2 separate regions of the Homo sapiens genome follow, and region 2 is linked to region 1. The links are contacts of gene promoters, found by promoter capture Hi-C in blood cells and fetal thymus (Javierre and others, 2016). All regions are on one chromosome and are shown on one strand. The core of a region is centred on a gene start or on the middle of the fragment in contact, and the rest is flanking DNA. Distances in the headings are between cores, read along the strand shown.

Evidence for each region. Contacts are between HindIII fragments. The CHiCAGO score rates a contact against its expected background, and 5 or more counts as called.
Region 2: a contact is called between a fragment that was not itself captured here and the fragment with the promoter of SOBP in region 1, in 1 of 17 cell types (erythroblasts). The highest score is 5.5, in erythroblasts.

The regions. Positions count from the first base shown.
Region 1 is chr6:107,486,979-107,492,613 of GRCh38, reverse strand. SOBP (sine oculis binding protein homolog) reads right to left here and starts at 2,497. Exons shown (of 7, transcript NM_018013.4): 1 at 1,902-2,497. The coding sequence starts at 1,997. RefSeq lists silencers at 2,118-2,177, 2,218-2,267. The HindIII fragment of the contact is 8,594 bases long and covers 1-3,201 here.
Region 2 is chr6:107,136,629-107,142,186 of GRCh38, reverse strand. No RefSeq gene overlaps it. Among named protein-coding and RNA genes, the nearest start is that of BEND3, 24 kb to the right of the region's middle. The HindIII fragment of the contact is 1,871 bases long and covers 1,327-3,197 here.

The DNA of each region.
Region 1 (5,635 bases), core at 1,248-3,747:
CCTCACCAGTTCAGACAAACATCTGTTATACTGCAGAAGGACAACTATCTCCCAAACCACGGACTGCGCCTGCAGCCAAAATCAACAACGCGAGCCCCAAGCATCGAGCACAGTCAGCCTTTATATCCAGCCGGGATAACATTTCACATGTTTTGATTAAAATTAGCTAATTTGTAATTCTAGAACCTATGAAACTTAAAAGCTGCCATCCATATAGATCACATTAGGCAGCGTTTTAAAGGGCCAGAGCTCCTTGTGATTTCCTAGTGGCTTTCACCTCTCTCCCCCTTCCCCACCCCCAACCTAAAATGAAATGCAAAAGTAAACTGGAAATGCAGGACAGGAGGTAAGGGTAAGTGAGGAAGAATGGTTATTATGGACTGTTTGAATTTTGTTCCCATCAAAAAACAACAACTTCTACCGGTCTTAAAAAAAATAAAATAAAACTGTCCATCATTGGAATCAACAGTGGTTTCCACCATAAGAAACAGCATTGATTTCCAAGGCAAATCTCCCTTAACTCTCCGTTGGACTCATGCTGCACCTCATGCTTCCAGGTACTAAGTTCCTTATCCAGTAATAAAACCCCTAATTCTGATATTTAGGTTGCTTCTGACATTTCTGAGAAGTAAAGCTAAGCATATGCACCTAGGTACGCATACATATATGATATATATCCATGCGTCCCCTGCTAAGCGTGAGCTATGATAGAAAATGCTTGTTCTAATGAAGAAAGCGTCAAAGCGCAATAAATTTGACTTACTTGCACACCATTTTCATCCAGTTTGTTTTTTAAATACAAACTGAACCAAAACTGGCCAAGTAGTAGTATTAAGCCACCTGGTAGTATTAAGGATTTCATGCAGAAGATGGGGAACACCAAGAAGACCGCAAAATGCAAACCTGCTACTTTTTGATGGCTCGCAGAAAAATAAATAAATTGTTTTATATCAATAGAGACTCGTGAAATCAACACAGAATAAAACCCTCGCCCAGGCAAAAGCCGCAACTTCATGGAAAATAAGGAGGTGGGGGGCAACGAGGGGGTCCAGAGCTGAGCGGTGCTCTTGTGCAATTGCTCTAACGCGAACAGCTGGAGCGCCAGGCTGCTGCGCTCTCCACCTCTGGTGCACCGCTGGCCTGGCGGGGAGCCCAGCCTCGCCGAGAGGACTCCGGGCCGGCCTTAGCGAACAATGGACAGGCGCCCTGCAAAGGCCGCCCCTCAGACAGCTGTCCTCCAGCGGGGCTGGCCGGGGTCTGCTTGGCTGGGAAGTGAGGCAGGCAGAGGCGAGCGGGAGGCGGAGGCTGCCAGTGGTGAGGTGCGGGCGGGGGCGGGCGAGGAGAGCGGTCAGGACCGTGCCCAGACCCGCGCCTCTCGGGCCGCAGCTCGCCGGGCACTGACGGGCTCTTCACGCCGTCGCAGCTGGTTGGTTGGGGGGAAGCGGGATTGAGGAGCAGGAGGGTGAGCTGGGGGAGAGGGGTGGAATAGAGCTCTCTCCGGGGTGCCCCGGCCAGGAGGCTCCTAACTTTGGAGGGACCCTGAGGATGATTCTCAAAAAGGGGGGAGAAACTGCACCGTCCACTGGGAAAGCCTCTTCCCCTGCCCAACGCCGCTCGAGTCCCCGGTGCCCTCGCCCTGAAACGCGTCCGTGCCAACCTGGGATTCGTAAGGTTAAATAGTATGTGGTCCCCCCTCATCAAATCTGAGGTTGGCAACAATTTCGGGGATGCAGCCCTCGAGTTGGCCTCTGCTTTACACCTGGAGGAGGAGCGGAGCCGTTCTGGGCATCCTACAGAAACTGACAAGCGCGCCCCGGTACCCCCCAGATCCATACCACGGCCCACGGGGAGCGGGCGCAAGAAAGAGCTCAGTCTCCCTGGCCCCCGAGATCAAAAAATACCTTCATCTCCTCATTGATCTCCCTTTTCACTGGGTGAGCCGGCTTCCTGCTCCGTTTATTTTCGGGAGGTCTCCCTTCTTTCTCCATTTCTGCCATGTTTTTGTGTCTGGTTTCTGTGGAGATGAAATGGCTGCTGCCGCCGCCGGCGGTGGTGGTGGCGGCGGCGGCGGCGGTGGAGGTGGTGCTGATGGTGGCGAGGCTGGCGGAGGTAGCGGTGCTGGCGGGGCCGGACCGAGCCGCGAGGGGGAGGGCAGGCGCCGAGAAGCGGGGTCTCTTCTAGCGGCGGAGGACGTCAGTGGCTGTCACGGGTAAGGATAGTGCGGAGAGTCTCGGGGATGCCGCCGCCGTCGCTCCGGCTCCTGCTGCCGCCGCCGCCGCCGCCGCAGCCAACGCCGCCGCTGCTGCCGCTGCCCCTGCCGCCCTCGCTGCCGCTGCCGCTCCCGCCGCCGCCGCCGCCGGGCCGCATCCTCGGGGCCCCGTGGAGTCGTCAGCCATCTTCCGTCGCTCGGTCCGTCCGCATGGGCGCGGGGAGCAAGGGCCGGCGCGGAGAGCGGCCCCGGGCGTGCGTGCGCGGCTGTGTGTGAGCCCGGGAGAGCGCGCCAGCCCCGGCGCCCAGCGCCTCCCGCGAGCCGAGCCGGGGGCGGGCCGGGGGCCGGCGCGGGAGGAGGGGAGGGAGCGCGGCCGGGAGGGGGTCGGAGGGAGGGGAAAGGTGGGGGGGGCGAGGACAGCCCCCCGGCTCTCGAGCGGGCGTGGCTTCCACCGTCACTGGATACGCGGATGCTGCGCGGCTCCGGGGGCTGCTCGCAGCCGCCTGTTCATCCGCGGCGGGCACGGGCGGCTCGCGGCGCCCCCCGCGGCCGCCACCTCCCCGCCACACGCCAGGGGCGCCGGCGCCCGCTCGGAACCCAGCCCTGCTTCTCAGCTCCGCGAGGTGGGCTGGGTTGCGTGTGGAGTTGGTTTTTGAGCCCGTCCTAGGAGCCGCTGAGGAAAAATGAATGGGGGTGAAAGGAGAAGGTTGGGCGGCGGGAGGTCGCGAGACCTGAGGTCGCCTGGCTAGAGGGCCGCCGTCCCCCGGGGAGGGTTGACTGAGCCTGCCGCCTCGGGGGTGCAACGCTGGGGTCTCGGGGAAAGGAAACCACAGCCCGGACGAGCTTCCCCCCACTGAGCTGCCAGAATAGTTTCCCCCTCCGGGGGCCACCGCAGAGTGCGCGGAGGCTGGAGACCCCTTGGAGAGGTCCCCGCGCCCCGCCCGGCCGGTCCTCCACGCGGCGCTGCCTCGGACTGCAATGGCAATGAAGCTTTTGCCTCTCAAAGAACTACTTAGAAGTAGGACATCTCGGCCTTCAGCCCCTTCATTTCTTTTTCCCCTTGTTCCTTCTCTCTTTATCTCTCTCTCACTTATGCCCTGCTTCAAAGTAACAGCTTTACGCGTGACCCCGCCTGCACCCTTATCTGGGTGTCCTGGGTTTCGCCCAAAAGGTTGGGCTGAGTGGGAGCTTCTGGGAGCGCACGGTCCCGCGTAGGGTCCCGCTCACCCGGACCCCGAACGCCCTCGCCACGCCCCGGTGGGATCCTCCCCTCCCCGCCTGGTTGCACTTTCTCCTCCCGACTTCCCAGCTAGCGCCTGCCCTCCATGGAGCGGTGCTCGCTCCCTCTGCGCTCACAAGTCCCCTCTTTGGCCCTCTCCTGCCACGCCTGGGGCCGAGGTCTGATTGAGTCTGTCCCTGTCCCTGGGTTGAGGCATTGGGGGTGACGACTGGATGATGTTTCTGTGATACGCGCGGCTCTGAGCGCTCCCACACGTTGCAGAGGACACATTGACGTTCCCGGCTTCTCCTTCCCGCGCCTCGACACTTCATAATTACCTGACACAATGCGATATGGGGGTGTCCATTGTTCCACTGCATGTTACTGTGGAGTGTTCGTTATGACAGTGGTGGAACTTAAAATTACACAATTTTTTTAAGTTCCTAAAAGAATGAATTCCGTGTGGGGATATGAGTAAGCTTTCCATTAAATCTCAGTTTGGCCTGTCAAACGAGGCTCATTCTGGGTATTACATCGCCTAATTTGCATTTTAGCATTGTTTTGTTTCTTAAATGTCACATTAGAGATACATGGGCGTGTACGCAGGAGAGCTGAGTACCTCCACGTTGCCTATTTTGCATTTTAGCATCATTTTGTTTTTAATAAACGCCAACTTAAAAACATCTGGGAGTGCACCCAGGAGGGCTGAGTACCTCCTCCCTCCTGATTTCTTCTCTTCCCCGTCCCGGGGAGGCGAGGGGAAGCTGCACCCTGCTCCCCGTGGCTGCCTAGATCCTGGGCAAGCCAGGAGGCCAGAGCGAGCCAGGCTTTGCGCCTGCAAGGGGTCCGCGCGAGAAACACTTACGCCGAGGAAAAGTTAAAATTCCTGGGACGCCCAAGAGTCAAGAGAGGAAGACTGATGAGGTTTTAGGGGAGCTTTGCAGTACAGGCGTCCTGTATTTGCGATTTTCCCAGTAGCCTCTGAGAACCTATCTAGGTACACTCAGGTCGTGAGCCGCGAGTCCTGTGGCCGGGTCTCAGAGCCCGCAGCAGCCCACAGCGCACCTACGACGACCCAATAACGCGGAGAGGAGCCTAAAGCTGTCGCAGCAACCTCCCCCCACTCCTGGAATGATAGTGCAACATTCGCCAGTGGGTGAGTGGGTGTATTTTGCGGTGGGGAGTATCTCCCTAATGCTGTTGCTGGGAGAGGGAGAGGAAGAGAGAGACTTTTGGTTTTTTAAATTGAATTTCATCCAAAACATCTGATAAATAATATGTGGGTTGGAGAGTTGTTTTCTCTGTTTGATCCTGTTAGTCTTTAATGAGGGAAATAGTGAGAAAACTTTTTGGGGGGCTTTTTAATATTCTAAAACTGTGGAAACATATGTTGTAAACTGTACGCAAAAAGCAGCTTTTTGTCTTCTGTAAACATATTTAAGTCCCCTCTGTTTCCTTTGGTGCCAGAAGCATTACAACTGATTCACTGTTGAGCAGCTGATATCAAATAGCAAGTTATATACCCCAAGTCCTAAGATACAGTTTCACAAGTTAAGAATAAAATAAACAGAAAAGGTGAACTGTAGCCCAGAGTTATATTTAGAGGCAGCTATACTTCTTTAAAGAAAATTACTTATTCTGTGATGGTTCAGGCATTTAATAAAAATAATGATATTAAACAGCCACCTGTTCCTTCACAAACATATGTCCTTCAGAAAACTGAGGTGAGAACATTGTATTGAAATCCACAATGCACATCTTTGGTGACAGAAAGAAGGCTCATAAAGTATATCTGAGGAAAACTTTTAGTCTAGAATGAACTTCAGAAGTAATGATGATTGTTACACCTTTTAATGACCCTAGGTTTCTTCATATCTACTGTAGACGAAAACAATTATAACAACAGATGATGCTTTATGAATTTAGATATACCATGAGTTAAATAATGTTCCCTGAATAACTTCATAATCCATAAGAGTATAACTACACAGGTAGGAACAACACATTATACGCATTTCAGAGGAGCCCCACTCCTGCTCCAATGACGTATCCTTTTGCTCCCCAACCACTAGCACTCTCCTGCGTGCTTGCTTTCTCTCTCTATACCCACACATATCACCCAAGGCTCCAGACATGCAATTAATCCTCAATTTTCCCTCTACTACCCCTGCTAGTCATCAAGATGGGTACAGGACTGATCTTTCATA
Region 2 (5,558 bases), core at 1,013-3,512, 350 kb after region 1:
GGGGTTGGTTGGGAATTTTTTTAGATTGTCATCTCTTTTTTCAGATATATATGAAAGTGAGATGAAGAAATGGACAAGAGCAGGTAGCAGAGAGATCAAGCTTTTTTTTTCTTAAGCCATTAAACATCTATATTTTTCTTCCCAGTGTCCTACCTCCCAACTTTTGATGATCAGAGGCTGGTATGACAGATTACCTTAATTTGTATCTAGCTGTTGCTAAGTTATCGCCATGGTATCAAGACACTGAGGCAAATATAGATGGCTAAAAACAAATGTGTGAGAAGAAAAAATTGTCCCTAGTCCCCTCACCTCACTGTCATCTGGATGAGTAGCAGCATTAAATCTGTGTCGTAGTTGCTTCACAACCATAGCAAAAAAAAAAAAAAAAAAAAAAAAAGCTTGAAAACCCAATTATTGCATCCTATAAAAATATAACGATTTCTGCAAATTTTATATTTGTCATTTACAAAAGTCATCACCAGCCTTTGTTTCTATACTTTATAATGATTGAAACAGCCTGCATAGTAACATTTATTGAATTTTTGCCCTCTAGCAATATAAAATATCAGCAAAAACGCTGCCCTATTAATGATAGTTTTTATGTTCATGCAGTCAAAATGAATGGCATCTTTTTGTTCTAGCTCAATAAAGTTCTTCAAATAGTTTTCAAAATTTCAAATTCTGGTATGTGATTTCAGCAAAATGACATAGTATGAGCTTTCTCTTTTGAAAGTGGTATAAATATAAACTGCACTTTCCAATTTTATATCTTAGTCCTATGACTTCCTTTGCCTCTCCACATATACACAGAGGGAAATTATTTAATATTTAATCCAAACTGCTCAATTTTCTTTTTCTTTTTCTTTCTTTTTTTTTTTTTTTTGAGACAGAGTCTCGCTCTGTCGCCCAGGCTGGAGTGCAATGGTGCGATCTCCGCTCACTGCAGCCTCCACCTCCTGGGTTCAAGCAATTCTCCTGCCACAGCCTCCCTAGTAGCTGGGACTACAGGCGCATGCCCCAACACCCAGTTAAGTTTTGTAATTTTAGTAGAGACGGGTTTCACTATGTTGGCCAGGATGGTCTTGGTCTGCTGACCTCGTGATCCACCCGCCTCGACCTCCCAAAGTTCAATTTTCTTAAAAGTGACCACCAACACCATCAACATATGTTTATAGACTAGATGTATCACTTGTTTACCCAAATTGTAGCATAAATATCTGTTTTTAGAAAGCTTTTCCATAAGTCTTTCTATATGATTGGATTATTAAGCAAGGCTATGATTAGGAAATAAACCACTTTCCCCTTTAGCTAGTTCTAATGAAAGCTTTCCAAATTAAACACTGTGTTTGAACACTTCTTCCATTCATAGCATGTGCTCATCAAAAAGTGCTTTCCGTTTCTGGTATGTCAACTGTACTATTTATAACCTAGTTAACAAAGCCAACTAAAGGCAGTAAAAGGTGTGTATTTCATATGCAAATTCCTAGCAATAATTTCTACAGTTACATATAGTTGCTTGCTCCGTTATGTTCAACATCAGCGTTATAAAACTGATTACAGGAAGGAGAAAATAATACTAAAATTATATTTTTATATTCCTTAATGGGTTTTTATTAAATACATTAGAAAGATAAATAGTACAAAATGGAAGTAGCCCTGATTTATAATGGACGTTTTTGCAAAGTGACTGATGACCTGTTATAGTAACTGTGCAGAGGAAGAAAATCACTGTGTGACATAGGCTCTTTCTATTTTGTCTCCAAATTTGTGTTTCCTTTTTTTGTTTTTTTGTTTGTTTGTTTGTTTGTTTGTTTGTTTGTTTTTGAGATGGAGTTTTTGCTATTGTTGCCCAGGCTGGAGTGCAATCTCAGCTCACCGCAACCTCCGCCTCCCAGGTTCAAGCGATTCTCCTGCCTCAGCCTCCCAAGTAGCTGGGATTATAGGCATGCGTCACCACGCCCAGCTAATTTTATATTTTTAGTAGAGTCGGGGTTTCGCCGTGTTGGTCAGGCTGCTCTCGAACTCCTGACCTCAGGTGATCCGCCCGCCTTGGTCTCCCAAAGTGCTGGGATTACAGGCGTGAGCCATCGCGCCCGGCTCAAATTTGTGTTTCCTTAACAATCCTCTTTGCTTCTTTATTTTACCAGATTGTGATTCCCCTGACTTAGAAACCATCAACGGAAAAATAAGAGGCCGGGCGCGGTGGCTCACATCTGTAATCCCCGCACTTTGGGAGGCCGAGGCGGGCAGATCATGATGTCAGGAGATCGAGACCATCCTGGCTAACACAGTGAAACCCTGTCTCTACTAAAAATACAAACAAAAGTCAGCTGGGCATGGTGGCACGTGCCTGTAGTCCCAACTACTCCGGAGGCTGTAGGCGGAGGTTGTAGTAAGCCGAGATCACGCCACTGCCCTCCAGCCTGCGTGACAGAGTGAGACTCCATCTAAAAAAAAAAAAGAAAAAGAAGTAAGAAACCAGGATAAGTTAATGCCTTCTTTTCATTGACATTTATTAAGTGTTACTATGTGCATAGCACTGCCTTGGATACAAAGGTAAACCATAGAATGAGATTATTTGTGTCTTTCCCACTATACTGTGGGCTTCTTGGGATCAGATTCTCTTTGAAAATAGTGGAAGATAACCAATGGAATAAACAGATCTGGGTTCAAATCCTAGCTTCTTGGCTGGGCGTGGTGGCTTATGCTTGTAATCCCAGCACTTTGGGAGGTCGAGGCAGGTGGATCGCTTGAGGCCAGGAGTTCGAGGCCAGCCTGGCCAATATGGTGAAACCCCATCTCTACAAAAAATACAAAAATTAGCTGGGCGTGGTGGCGTACGCCTGTAGTTCCACCTACTCAGGAGGCTGAAGCACGAGAATCACTTGAGCCTGGGAGACGGAGGTTGCAGTGAGCAGAGATCCAGCCACTGCACTCTAGTCTGGGCAACAGAGCGAGACTGTCTCAAAAAAAACAAACAAAACAAAACAAAAAAACCTCAAATCCTAGCTTATCTATCAGGTGTGATGAGACAAATTCTCCAGGTTTCTTCTTCCTTTCTTGTGGAATTGGATAGTCGTGCTTACTAGTAAAGAATAGCTGCTAATTGCCTGAAGGCACCAATCACTGTACCTACCACAGAGGGTGCCATTCGATAAATGCTGTTAAAGGAAATGTGTTTTTATAACAATGAAGCTTAGGCTGGGCGCGGTGGATCATGCCTGTAATCCCAGCACTTTGGGAGGCCGAGGCGGGCGGATCACAAGGTCAGGAGATAGAGACCATCCTGGCTAATATGGTGAAACCCCATCTCTACTAAAAAAAATACAAAAAATTAGCCAGGCGTTGTGGCGGGCGCCTGTAGTCCCAGCTACTCGGGAGGCTGAGGCAGAAGAATGGCATGAACCCGGGAGGCAAAGCTTGCAGTGAGCCGAGATCGCGCCACTGCACTCCAGCCTGGGCGACAGAGCGAGACTCCATCTCAAAAAAAAAAAAAAAAAAAACAATGAAGCAAGCAAGTAAAATAGAGTAATAGTAAAGGAACACTGGTTTACAAACTCTAATCAGAAGAATACAGGTTATAAAATAGGTCTAGAGACTTCTTTGAACATAAAGGACAGGACCTGGCACGGTAGCTCACGCCTGTAATCCCAGCACTTTGGGAGGCCGAGGCGGGTGAATCACCTGAGGTCAGGAGTTGGAGACCAGCCTGGCCAATATGGAGAAACCCCGTCTCTACTAAAAATACAAAATTAGCCAAGCATGGTGGTGCATGCCTGTAATCCCAGCTACTCGGGAGGCTGAGGCAGGAGAATTGCTTGAACCCAGGAGGCGGAGGTTGCAGTGAGCCAAGATCGCACCATTGCACTCCAGCCTGGGCAACAAGAGCGAAACTCAGCCTCAAAAAAAAAAAAAAAAAAAAAAAGGGAAGAGGTTGGATTAGAACAGTATTTGCACAATATGGTCTATGAACCACTCATATTAAAATCAAGGGCTTGCATTAGAATAAGGGCTGTATCCAGACCTATGTTTTTCAGAATTTTCAGGTAATTCTCACACACACACCCTGTTTTAGATCCACTGGAGTCGATGATACATTCCTAAACTTCCATTGACATATAATTCCTGGTGAGGGCCGGGCGTGGTGGCTCATGCCTGTAATCCCAGCACTTTGGGAGGCCGAGGCAGGTGAATCACTTGAGGTCAGGAGTTCGAGACCAGCCTAGGCAACATGGTGAAACCCTGTGTCTACTAAAAATGCAAAAAATTAGCTGGGCATGGTGGCACATGTCTGTAGTCCCAGTTACTTGGGAGACTGAGGAAGAAGAATCACTTGAACCCGGGAGGCGGAGATTTCAGTAAGCTGAGATCATGCCAGTGCACTCCAACTTGGGTGACAGAGCAAGACTCCATCTCAAAAAAAAAAAAAAAAAGATAATAATAATTCCTGGAGTGATGCAGCAGACACACATGAACTTTGAAGTAAGACAGGTTCCAGGCGTACTGGAATGCTTAACATTTAAGCCAGCAACAACTAATAAAAGCAACAATCCAATGCAAAGAAGAAAGGGGAAAAGAAAAATGTGTAGTGCTATGGTTTGGATATGGTGTGTCCCTATCAAAACTCATGTTGAAATTTGATTCCCAGCTGGGCACAGTGGCTCACGCCTGTAATCCCAGCACTTTGGGAGGCCAAGGCGGGTGGACTGCCTGAGGTCAGGAGTTCGAGACCAGCCTGGCCAACATAGTGAAACCCCGTCTCTACTAAAAATACAAAAAATTAGCTGGGCGAGGTGGTGGATGCCTGTAATCCCAGCTACTCGGGAGGCTGAGGCAGGAGAATCGCTTGAACCTGGAAGGCAAAGGTTGCAGTGGGCTGAGATCAGGCCATTGCACTCCAGCCTGGGCAACAAGAGCGAGACTCCGTCTCAAAAAAAAAAAAAAGAAAGAAAGAAATTTGATTCCCAATGTGGCAGTGTTGGGAGGTGGGGCCTAGTGGGAGGTGTTTGGGTCATGGGGGTGGATTTCTCATGAATGGATTAATGCTCTCCCAGGAACCCATTCTCACACTTGCAGGAATGAGTTAGCTTTCCAGAGAGTGGGTTGTTAAGAGTCTAGCTTCCTTGGTTTTTCTCCCTTGCTTTCTCTCTTGCCTTATGATCTTTGCACACTCCCATTCCCCTTCCTCTTTCCACCATGAGTGGAAGCAGCCTGAGACCTTCACCAGATGCAGCTACCCAATCTTGAACCTTCCGGCCACCAGAATCCTGAGCCAAATAAACCTCTTGATAAATTACCCAGCCTAATTCTGTTATAGCAACACAAAACAGACCAAGACCTGTAGTAAATGAAAAATATGGAATAAAAAGGCAGAAATAAGTACTTATAATGAATTATAATAAATAAAAATTAATTAAATTCAATTAAAAAACAGACTTTCAGATTGAATTAAACAGATCCAATAATAAGATTATCTCAAAGAGAAATTTAAATCAAAAAGACAGGCCAGGTGCTCATGCCTGTAATCCCAGCACTTTGGGAGGCCAAGGCAGGTAGAT